Linked DNA regions of Homo sapiens: regions 1 and 3 are each linked to region 2. Evidence: promoter capture Hi-C in 16 types of primary human blood cells and fetal thymus (Javierre and others, 2016). All regions are on one chromosome and are shown on one strand. The core of a region is centred on a gene start or on the middle of the fragment in contact, and the rest is flanking DNA. Distances in the headings are between cores, read along the strand shown.

Region 1 (2,700 bases), core at 6-2,505, 720 kb before region 2:
CCCACCCTTCCCAGAAGAATTACGATTAACTGTAGAGGAAAGTCCTTTAAAACTTGGTTATAGCAGAAGTTTGAGATGTTTTCCACCAATACTTTCTATGAATTAAATAAGTCATGTAGGGCAATTTGGAATTGAAAAGAGCTAGAAGTACAGCCATATGACGTTACAACTAAGTTCTCTGTATTTTCTGTGGTGATTTCTAATATGCTTTCTAAAGACTAGTAATTTATTAGATGGGTAGGCAGCCATTGTTGATTAGATGTTTTTTGTTGTCTGGAGATTTGGGCATGATGTGTTTATTATTTAAATCAATTGTCATAGGGTAACAATTTGTGCCCTCTTTTTTAAGGATATGGTGGTGGTTTTAATGAAAGAGAAAATGTTGAATATATAGAAAGAGAAGAATCTGATGGTGAATATGATGAGGTAAGCTATATTTTGGTGTTCAGGTTGAATATAAATTAGAAAAACAGAAAAAATTCTTAAATGCAAAGGAAAACAAACTTTTTTTTAAGTGCAATTTGAGTCTTCAGCAACTGATCATTTTCAGGAAATCATAAATATCTAAAATAATTTTTTAGAAAATGTATTAAGTTTAATGCATTATCAGCTGACAAGCATTTTGAAATTGTTTTTCTCTAGTTTGGACGTAAAAAGAAAAAATACAGAGGGAAAGCAGTTGGTCCTGCATCTATATTAAAGGAAGTTGAAGATAAAGAATCAGAGGGAGAAGAAGAGGATGAGGATGAAGATCTTTCTAAATATAAGTTAGATGAGGTGAACAATTTTCTTGTCCTATTTCCCTTTTGTCTTATTGGAGTTATACCATAACATGAATGCTTTTGACAGCCTCAGACACTTGGTGAAAATATATTCTGTGTTTTCATTTGTTCTCACAAAGGTTTTGGATTTCCACTCTGCCAAGTACTATTTGTACTTGGAACACTACTGTTCTGGAGATACAGTGGTGACCGAAACAGAACCAGTTTTCTCTTACACAGTTCTAGAGGAGGAAATATATAAATAGGTAATTTTGATAGCAGTAACGTTATGAAGACACATGATGTGATAACAGTTTAAAAGCAACTTTGGTTTTGCCGATGGATAATGTCTAAGGAGGTGAAGTTTGAGCTGAAACTTGAATGATAGGAAGGAGCCAGCAATAAGAGCCGAGGTGAGAGCACATTTAGGCAGAGAACAGCAAATACGGGTTCCCTAAATAGGAGATAAGCCAGCAGCCTTCAAAAATACCATACATAGGCCAGTATAGTTAGAGCAGAGGGGAGAATGAGATGAGGGGGACAGCACACATTTCAGGTCTGGTGATACTTGTTCTGTCAGGCCAGAGTGTAAGTTTTATGCCATGTTAAGGGTACCTTAGAGCCTGATCATAAGAGGTCTTGGAATGCAACTAAAGAAATAATAAGCCAGTTTTGAAGTTTTTAAGAAAAAAGTGAGATGTGTTTATCTGTCCTGTGTTTCAGAGTGATGACTGTCAGTATATTGAGATACTAGAGAGGCAGAATGGATCTTCAGATTTGAGGAGACCAGCTAAGAGGTTACTATAATATGCTAGAGAATAAGGAACAGAGTGTCTAAGACTAAAAATGGTGATTTCAAGGACTTTTAAGGAGGTGGACTTGAAAATTCTTGGGTGATGCATAAGTGTGACAGAAAAAGTGTGTATGGCCTCCAGGTTTATGTCTGTGCAATACCTGAGACAAAGTTGTCAAGTCTCTATTTGAGATGAGTTTAGTAGGTGAATTTTAGAATTCAGAATTAATTTGCTGAGATACCTGTGATATATGCATATGGAGGTGCTCAGTACACCTAACTGTTTTATCTTTCCTGGTAGGTAACACTAATATCTAAATGTCTAATTATAATTGAATTTTTGTTAGGATGAGGATGAAGATGACGCTGATCTCTCAAAATATAATCTTGATGCCAGTGAAGAAGAAGATAGTAATAAAAAGAAATCTAATAGACGAAGTCGCTCAAAGTCTCGATCTTCACATTCACGATCTTCATCACGCTCATCCTCCCCCTCAAGTTCAAGGTCTAGGTCCAGGTAAACGGGTACAGGTCAAGGGTAACACCAGTCAAAATGTCAGTATCTAACTTTTTTATTTATAAATTTTGTTTTTCTTGACGAAATAAACTTTCCTTTTTATTTTAAAAATTTAATTCAAATCAACTTTTAAAATAATTTTTCAGCTTAGTACCATACAGTTGTTGTCCAGTATTTTTAGAAAAGTAAAGTCTTAGCATGAAACTTCCTTAACCTATTTTAGCCTCATGCTTTTGACTAAAATAGACTTAAAAACTGAATTAAATTTTTATATACACTTATATTTAATTAATCTAAAGAGATAGCTTACATATAGAAATTAAGTAAAGGGGAGATCTGTATTTTCATTCAAGATGTTAAAGGCTAGCACAGAAATTTTCTAGGCATTAAATCATTGCTTATTACATAATGTTTTTAATAGTTTGCTTTGATATCAGTATTGTGAATAACGGAGCAAATTCAGCCATATTAGTTCTGTTGACTTCATGCTCATAATTTTGAGAAGTCCAGGCGTAAACTAAAACTCTTTTGGTGTACTTGAATATTGTTTGTTGATGTAAAATATGTAATCTCTGATTTTATAGTTAACAATAAAAATAAAATTTTAGGTGAGTGAAAGCAGTGATTTA
Region 2 (2,700 bases), core at 169-2,668:
ATGTTTTAACATAAACGGAACTCTCCACTCCACCGAAAAAGAAAGAAGAGGAAGAAACAGATTTATCTGAACAGACTGAGAAGAAAATTGGAGGTGAAAAGTTGAGTGACTGGGGAGGATTAAGAGAGGCCCATCGAGTTGTTTGTTTGCGGAGATGAGTTAGCAGTAGTATAAACTTTAAGAAAGAAGAGATCTGGCCGGGCGCAGTGGCTCATGCCTGTAATCCCAGCACTTTGGGAGGCTGAGGCTGGCGGATCACTGAGGTCAGGGGTTCAAGACCAGCCTGGCCAACACGGTGAAACCCCGTCTCTACTAAAAATACAACAATTAGCTTGGTGTGGTGGCGCAGGCCTATAATCCCAGCTACTCTGGAGGCTGAGGCAGGAGAATCGCTTGGACCTGGGAGGTGGAGGTCGCAGTGAGCCGAGATTGCACCACTGCACTCTAGCCTGGACTACAGAGACTCTGTCAAAAAAACAAAAAAACAAAAAAAAGAGAGAGAGATCTGAAGTATTTGCTCTCAGAACATAGGGGGACTTTGGAGAGTTAAATGGGTGAAGATCTTTAGGATGTTTTGCTAAGCCCCCTCCTTACGTCCTCAGTGGCCAGCTTTAGTTACTTTGTTAAAGTTTTATGGTTGGCAGATTTACGTTTCTTCAGAGTTTGACACTAGGTTGAGGTTGGCCATGAACTAATACAATTATATTTCAGTTACACGATTCTTTGCCCTCCTTGAGTGTCCCCACCCTCATATATGTTAACTCTGACATCTGCCCGAAATTCATTCATCTAATAAATATTTGAGTGGCCTCCCCTCTTTCCGATTGCTGGACAGCCCATCATTTTCCAAAGTCAGCACCTAAACTCTTCTATGACTTTCCTGACAACTCAACACTAAAATTCGTCCCTCCCTTTTTTGTGTGCAACCCACCTCCCCGCCTCCGCTTTTAATTGTTTGGCCTTCATTCCTCTTCTACAGTGCTCCCTGCAATCAGTACTGGTGCTGTACATATTTGCTAGCTTCGTACATACGGCACGAAGTAGATGCTCAGTAAATGTTGGTTGACTGAGTATCCTCTGCATCTCGGTGACATCACATCCTGCGTGCCGTGGCGTCATTCTGCATTCCTCTGCGGGAGGCTCAGATCCGGAGGGTTTAAGTGGTTGTTTATAACATGCACCGAACATATCCAACGGAGGCTGTGGTTTCCGACCGCCCACAAAAAGCGCGGTTGGCGGGAGTGCGGGTTCGGGGTCGGCTGGCAGCTGGGAGACTCCAGCTCTGGGCGGAAACACACTGCCTCGGAGGCGCCGGCGCCTAGTGATTCTGGGAATAGAAGGTGCGAGGGAGGGAGCGGGTGGCTCACTTATCGCGGTGTTTTCTCTCTCTTCACTCCTGGGGGAGCTCTCGCGAGAGGAGCAAGAGGAAGATGGCCGTGCCCTGTTTTTCGGTGTAAGGCAGCGACGGCGGCTGCGACGGCGAGACTGAGATCCTGGTGTCGTGGGCACCTGAGTTCTAGCTTCCCCCAGCGAGCGCGCGTCCCTTCGTGCCTAGGCGAGAGCCGGCTCTTCCCCGGGAGATGCGTTTGTCCCAGGCTCGGGGGCTCAGTGGGAGTTCATGCTGCGCTGGAGGCTCTTGGCCACCGCTCTAATCGCCTTGTGCCGCCGCAGCGCCAGCTCCGTCGCCAGCGGTGAGCCTCCCGATTCCCCCCCTTGCCCCTGGCGGCGGCGATGACCGGGGAGAAGATCCGCTCACTGCGGAGGGACCACAAGCCCAGCAAAGAAGAAGGGGACCTGCTGGAGCCCGGGGATGAGGAAGCGGCGGCTGCCCTCGGCGGTACCTTTACCAGAAGCAGGATTGGCAAGGGCGGCAAAGCTTGTCATAAGATCTTCAGTAACCATCACCACCGGCTACAGCTGAAGGCAGCTCCGGCCTCCTCCAATCCCCCCGGCGCCCCGGCTCTGCCGCTGCACAATTCCTCCGTGACTGCCAACTCCCAGTCCCCGGCCCTTCTGGCCGGCACCAACCCCGTTGCTGTCGTCGCGGATGGAGGCAGTTGCCCCGCACACTACCCGGTGCACGAGTGCGTCTTCAAGGGGGATGTGAGGAGACTCTCCTCTCTCATCCGCACGCACAATATCGGGCAGAAAGATAATCACGGTGAGGAGTGCTAGCCCCTCTCCACCTCTCTCCTTCCCCGAGCCTAGGGTGTGCCTCCCCAGGCTTCTGGAATCCTAGGCCCCCTCCAGCAGACTCTTCTTTTTGCCCATCATCCGGGCCGTTCGGTAAATCATGATCGACTCAGTAATAGCGTGCCAGTGGTCAAGGGGTTGGTTCTTGTGGGTGCAAAGGAATGTATCCTCCTTGCCCACTTCAAAGTTTGTCGTGAGAAGCTGTTTTGTTTGAGACAGGCCTTCGATTTGCTGATTCTGGACTGTCAGAAATTTTAGGTTGCCTCCCACCCAACATGGTTTTCTCCCTTTGTTTATGGAGCTATATATCTTTATTTCTCTCTCTTCCCCCTACCTTGGCATTTTAAATTTTGAACGCATAAATTGCCCTCCTCCCTTCATTGCTCACATACAGATCCCATCTTGACTGCAACTGGTTGTGATTTTGCCTGCCACCAGGTTGTTTCTTTTTTGTCTGCTTTCAGTAAACTTAGAATGTTAGATTTCTGAAAGCCACACAGTAGAAAT
Region 3 (2,700 bases), core at 134-2,633, 730 kb before region 2:
TCTAACATAGCAAATGAATTTCTTTAACAGGCAGGGTACACAAACAACTATCCTACTGACCTGATAATCCAAAAGAACTTTTTATTTGGCCAAGACAACATTTATGTTTAGGTTGAATTTGAAAGGCTTTGAACAGCTCATCACATTTTCCCTCATTCCCTAGTGTTTTACACAGGCCTGCATCATTGATTTATGTTACTGCCTGAACCCTGTAAACATTTGAGTTTTTCTTTCATGGTTTAATACTTGATTTAACTGAAAATCCCTTTATAAGAATGTAAACTTTAGGCAGGGTGCGGTGGCTCACGCCTGTAATCCTAGCACTTTGGGAGGCCAAGATGAGTGCATCGCTTGAGATCAGGAGTTCCAGACAAGCTTGGCCAACGTGGTGAAACCCCATCTCTACTAAAAATACAAAAATTAGCTGGGAGTAGCGGTGCATGCCTATAACCCCAGTTACTCGGGAGGCTGAAGCAGAAGAATCGCTTGACCCCAGGAGGTGGAGAGGTGGAGGTTGCAGTGAGCCGAGATCGTGCCATTGCACTCCAGCCAGACTCCGTCTCAAAAAAAAAAAAAAAAAAGGACACTTTAAACTGTTTTTAGTTATTTACACTAGGATGTAAACAGTTTTTCAACTGTTTTTCACTGTGGGGGATGAGAGTTTTTGAAGAAGGTAAGACTGAAGGAATAACAGGATGGGGACTAGGGTGAGCCAGATGCCTAGGGTTCAACATTTAAGGAGGCGCTCATTCTCAAGTGATAACTCCAGGCTCAGCACCTGAGACTGCCTCCTTAAATGTCATGCCCTGTTTGTGTTATTTGCCTCGCTCTTATCCCAGTCCTTTAAGGATAAAGTTTAACCAGCTTTGGTTTCTGTTACTTGTGATGAAGTATCCTTAATGCATTTCCCTTCCCCACCCATGAACTGAGGGAGTCATTCTTCCTGGGAACACCCATAATATCCTCTGATTATACCTATACTATACTTACAACACAGTTTTCTCACTATTTACACATCCATATGCATCGGCACTCTGTGCGCTCCTTAAACAAAGAGACTGTGACATAATCTTCTTTATAGCTGCAATATCTAGTCCTGTACCTGTTGAGTGGGTAAGTCAATGAATGAATGGACAAATAAATAAATGAGTGTGTTGTCAGAATTGAACATGCCATACCTGCTGTGGCATGGCACAGGTGTGTGAAATCCTTCGTCAGTAAAAACATTTTATTTTTGCTATAGATAGATGGCAAACTTCAACCTGCTTTTATTCTAATTGTGATATGATTTTTCTCATAACTTTGTATGTAGCATTTGAATTGTTCCAGTTTTTTATTTAAACATACGTGCTCAAGAAAGAACTGCAGTAGATTTGTGACTGACACCGTATATATGCTTTTGCCCTCAGTCTCCAGCAGGGCCAGCCTCCTTGACCTAATTAGACTTCTCACTCCCACATGGCTGGTAAATACTATAATTAATTTATAAAGGACTCTGAAACACCAACTGGCAAAAATTCCCTATTAATGGTTTCTACAGAATGAAAAGAGCATTTAAGTTGTAGGAGAGTTGTTGTTGTGTGTGTGTGTGTGTGTGTGTGCGCACATGTATTCACATTTTTTAATGTAGTGAATTTCTAAGAATGTCAAATCATAACACGTACTAAGTAAACAATGTTTAATAACGTCTTGTCATTTCTTTCAGCACATTTATTTTAAATTTGAAAGAAATCTGTGTGACAAAATATTCTTAGAGATGTATATTTGGGGTATGTGAGACTTGAGTGTCCATGAATACTCACACACATCCCATAAACTATGCCATTCTTAAAATAAAGTTAAAGAGAAAAATATAGACCATCAGTTTAAGAAGGATGTCTCAATGATTTGAGAAAGCAACAACTGTAGTGGCCTTTGGAGTATTTGCCTATTCAGAAGCCATGGTTGGCAGAATTTCAAGATGGCTCCCAAGATTTCTGTGTCCTGGTGTACATGCCCTGTATTATACCCTCTCTGTGAGTGTGGGCAGGACCTGTGAATACAATGAGATGGCACTCCTTTGATTAGTTTATGTTATATGGCAAAGGGGACGGAACCATTTCTCCTCTGATTACATTATATTATATAAGACTTTATAGCAGTAATAGTTATAGTAGTAGTATATAGTAGTAATGGTAGTGGCAGCAGCAGCAGCCAACTGGAGAGAAATTCTCCTGCTGGCTTTGGAGAAGTAAACTCCGTTTTGAGATGGCCATGTAATTAGGACCTGAGGGCAGTCTCTAGAAGCTGAGAGAACCCCCTGGCCAACATCTCCCAAGAAAATAGGGACCTCTGATGTAAAGTTTCAGGGAACTAAATTCCACTAACAACCTGAATATGCCTAAAAGCTTCAGATGAAATTGCAGCTCCACTTGGCACCTTGATTGCTGCCTAGTGAAACCCTAAGCAGATAATCCAATTAAGCTATGCCCAGACTTCTCATCCACAGAAACTGAGAGATAACAAATACATGTTACTTTAAGCTTCTAAGGTTGTGGTAATTTGTTACTTGGCACTAGAAAACCAATACAAGAACCAACTGCTTTTTCTTTTCTGTGGGCACTACCCTTTACTCCCCTTGTCCCACAGGAGTGCCTCCTAGCAGTCAGGTCTATACATTACACCATGATCCTGAAAAACTGACATAGCTGATTGGATAGA

The links. Contacts are between HindIII fragments. The CHiCAGO score rates a contact against its expected background, and 5 or more counts as called.
Region 1: a fragment that was not itself captured here is called in contact with the fragment with the promoter of ANKRD13C in region 2 in 6 of 17 cell types (naive CD4 T cells, fetal thymus, total CD4 T cells and 3 more); the score reaches 7.2 in naive CD4 T cells.
Region 3: a fragment that was not itself captured here is called in contact with the fragment with the promoter of ANKRD13C in region 2 in 1 of 17 cell types (total B cells); the score reaches 5.6 in total B cells.

The regions. Positions count from the first base shown.
Region 1 is chr1:71,070,198-71,072,897 of GRCh38, reverse strand. It overlaps ZRANB2 (zinc finger RANBP2-type containing 2), which reads left to right. Exons shown (of 10, transcript NM_203350.3): 5 at 350-426; 6 at 643-777; 7 at 1,902-2,071. Among named protein-coding and RNA genes, the nearest start is that of MIR186, 3.8 kb to the right of the region's middle. The HindIII fragment of the contact is 3,187 bases long and covers 1-2,700 here.
Region 2 is chr1:70,353,440-70,356,139 of GRCh38, reverse strand. ANKRD13C (ankyrin repeat domain 13C) reads left to right here and starts at 1,418. Exons shown (of 13, transcript NM_030816.5): 1 at 1,418-2,161. The coding sequence starts at 1,732. ANKRD13C-DT (ANKRD13C divergent transcript) reads right to left here and starts at 1,329. Exons shown (of 4, transcript NR_168352.1): 1 at 932-1,329. RefSeq lists enhancers at 1,039-1,098, 1,199-1,258, 1,309-1,498, 1,529-1,588, 716-1,633 and 3 more. The HindIII fragment of the contact is 4,699 bases long and covers 1-1,878 here.
Region 3 is chr1:71,087,221-71,089,920 of GRCh38, reverse strand. The region is part of intron 1 of ZRANB2-DT (ZRANB2 divergent transcript); the gene reads right to left. LOC105378795 (a long non-coding RNA gene) reads left to right here and starts at 965. Exons shown (of 3, transcript XR_001737669.2): 1 at 965-1,113. The HindIII fragment of the contact is 2,012 bases long and covers 378-2,389 here.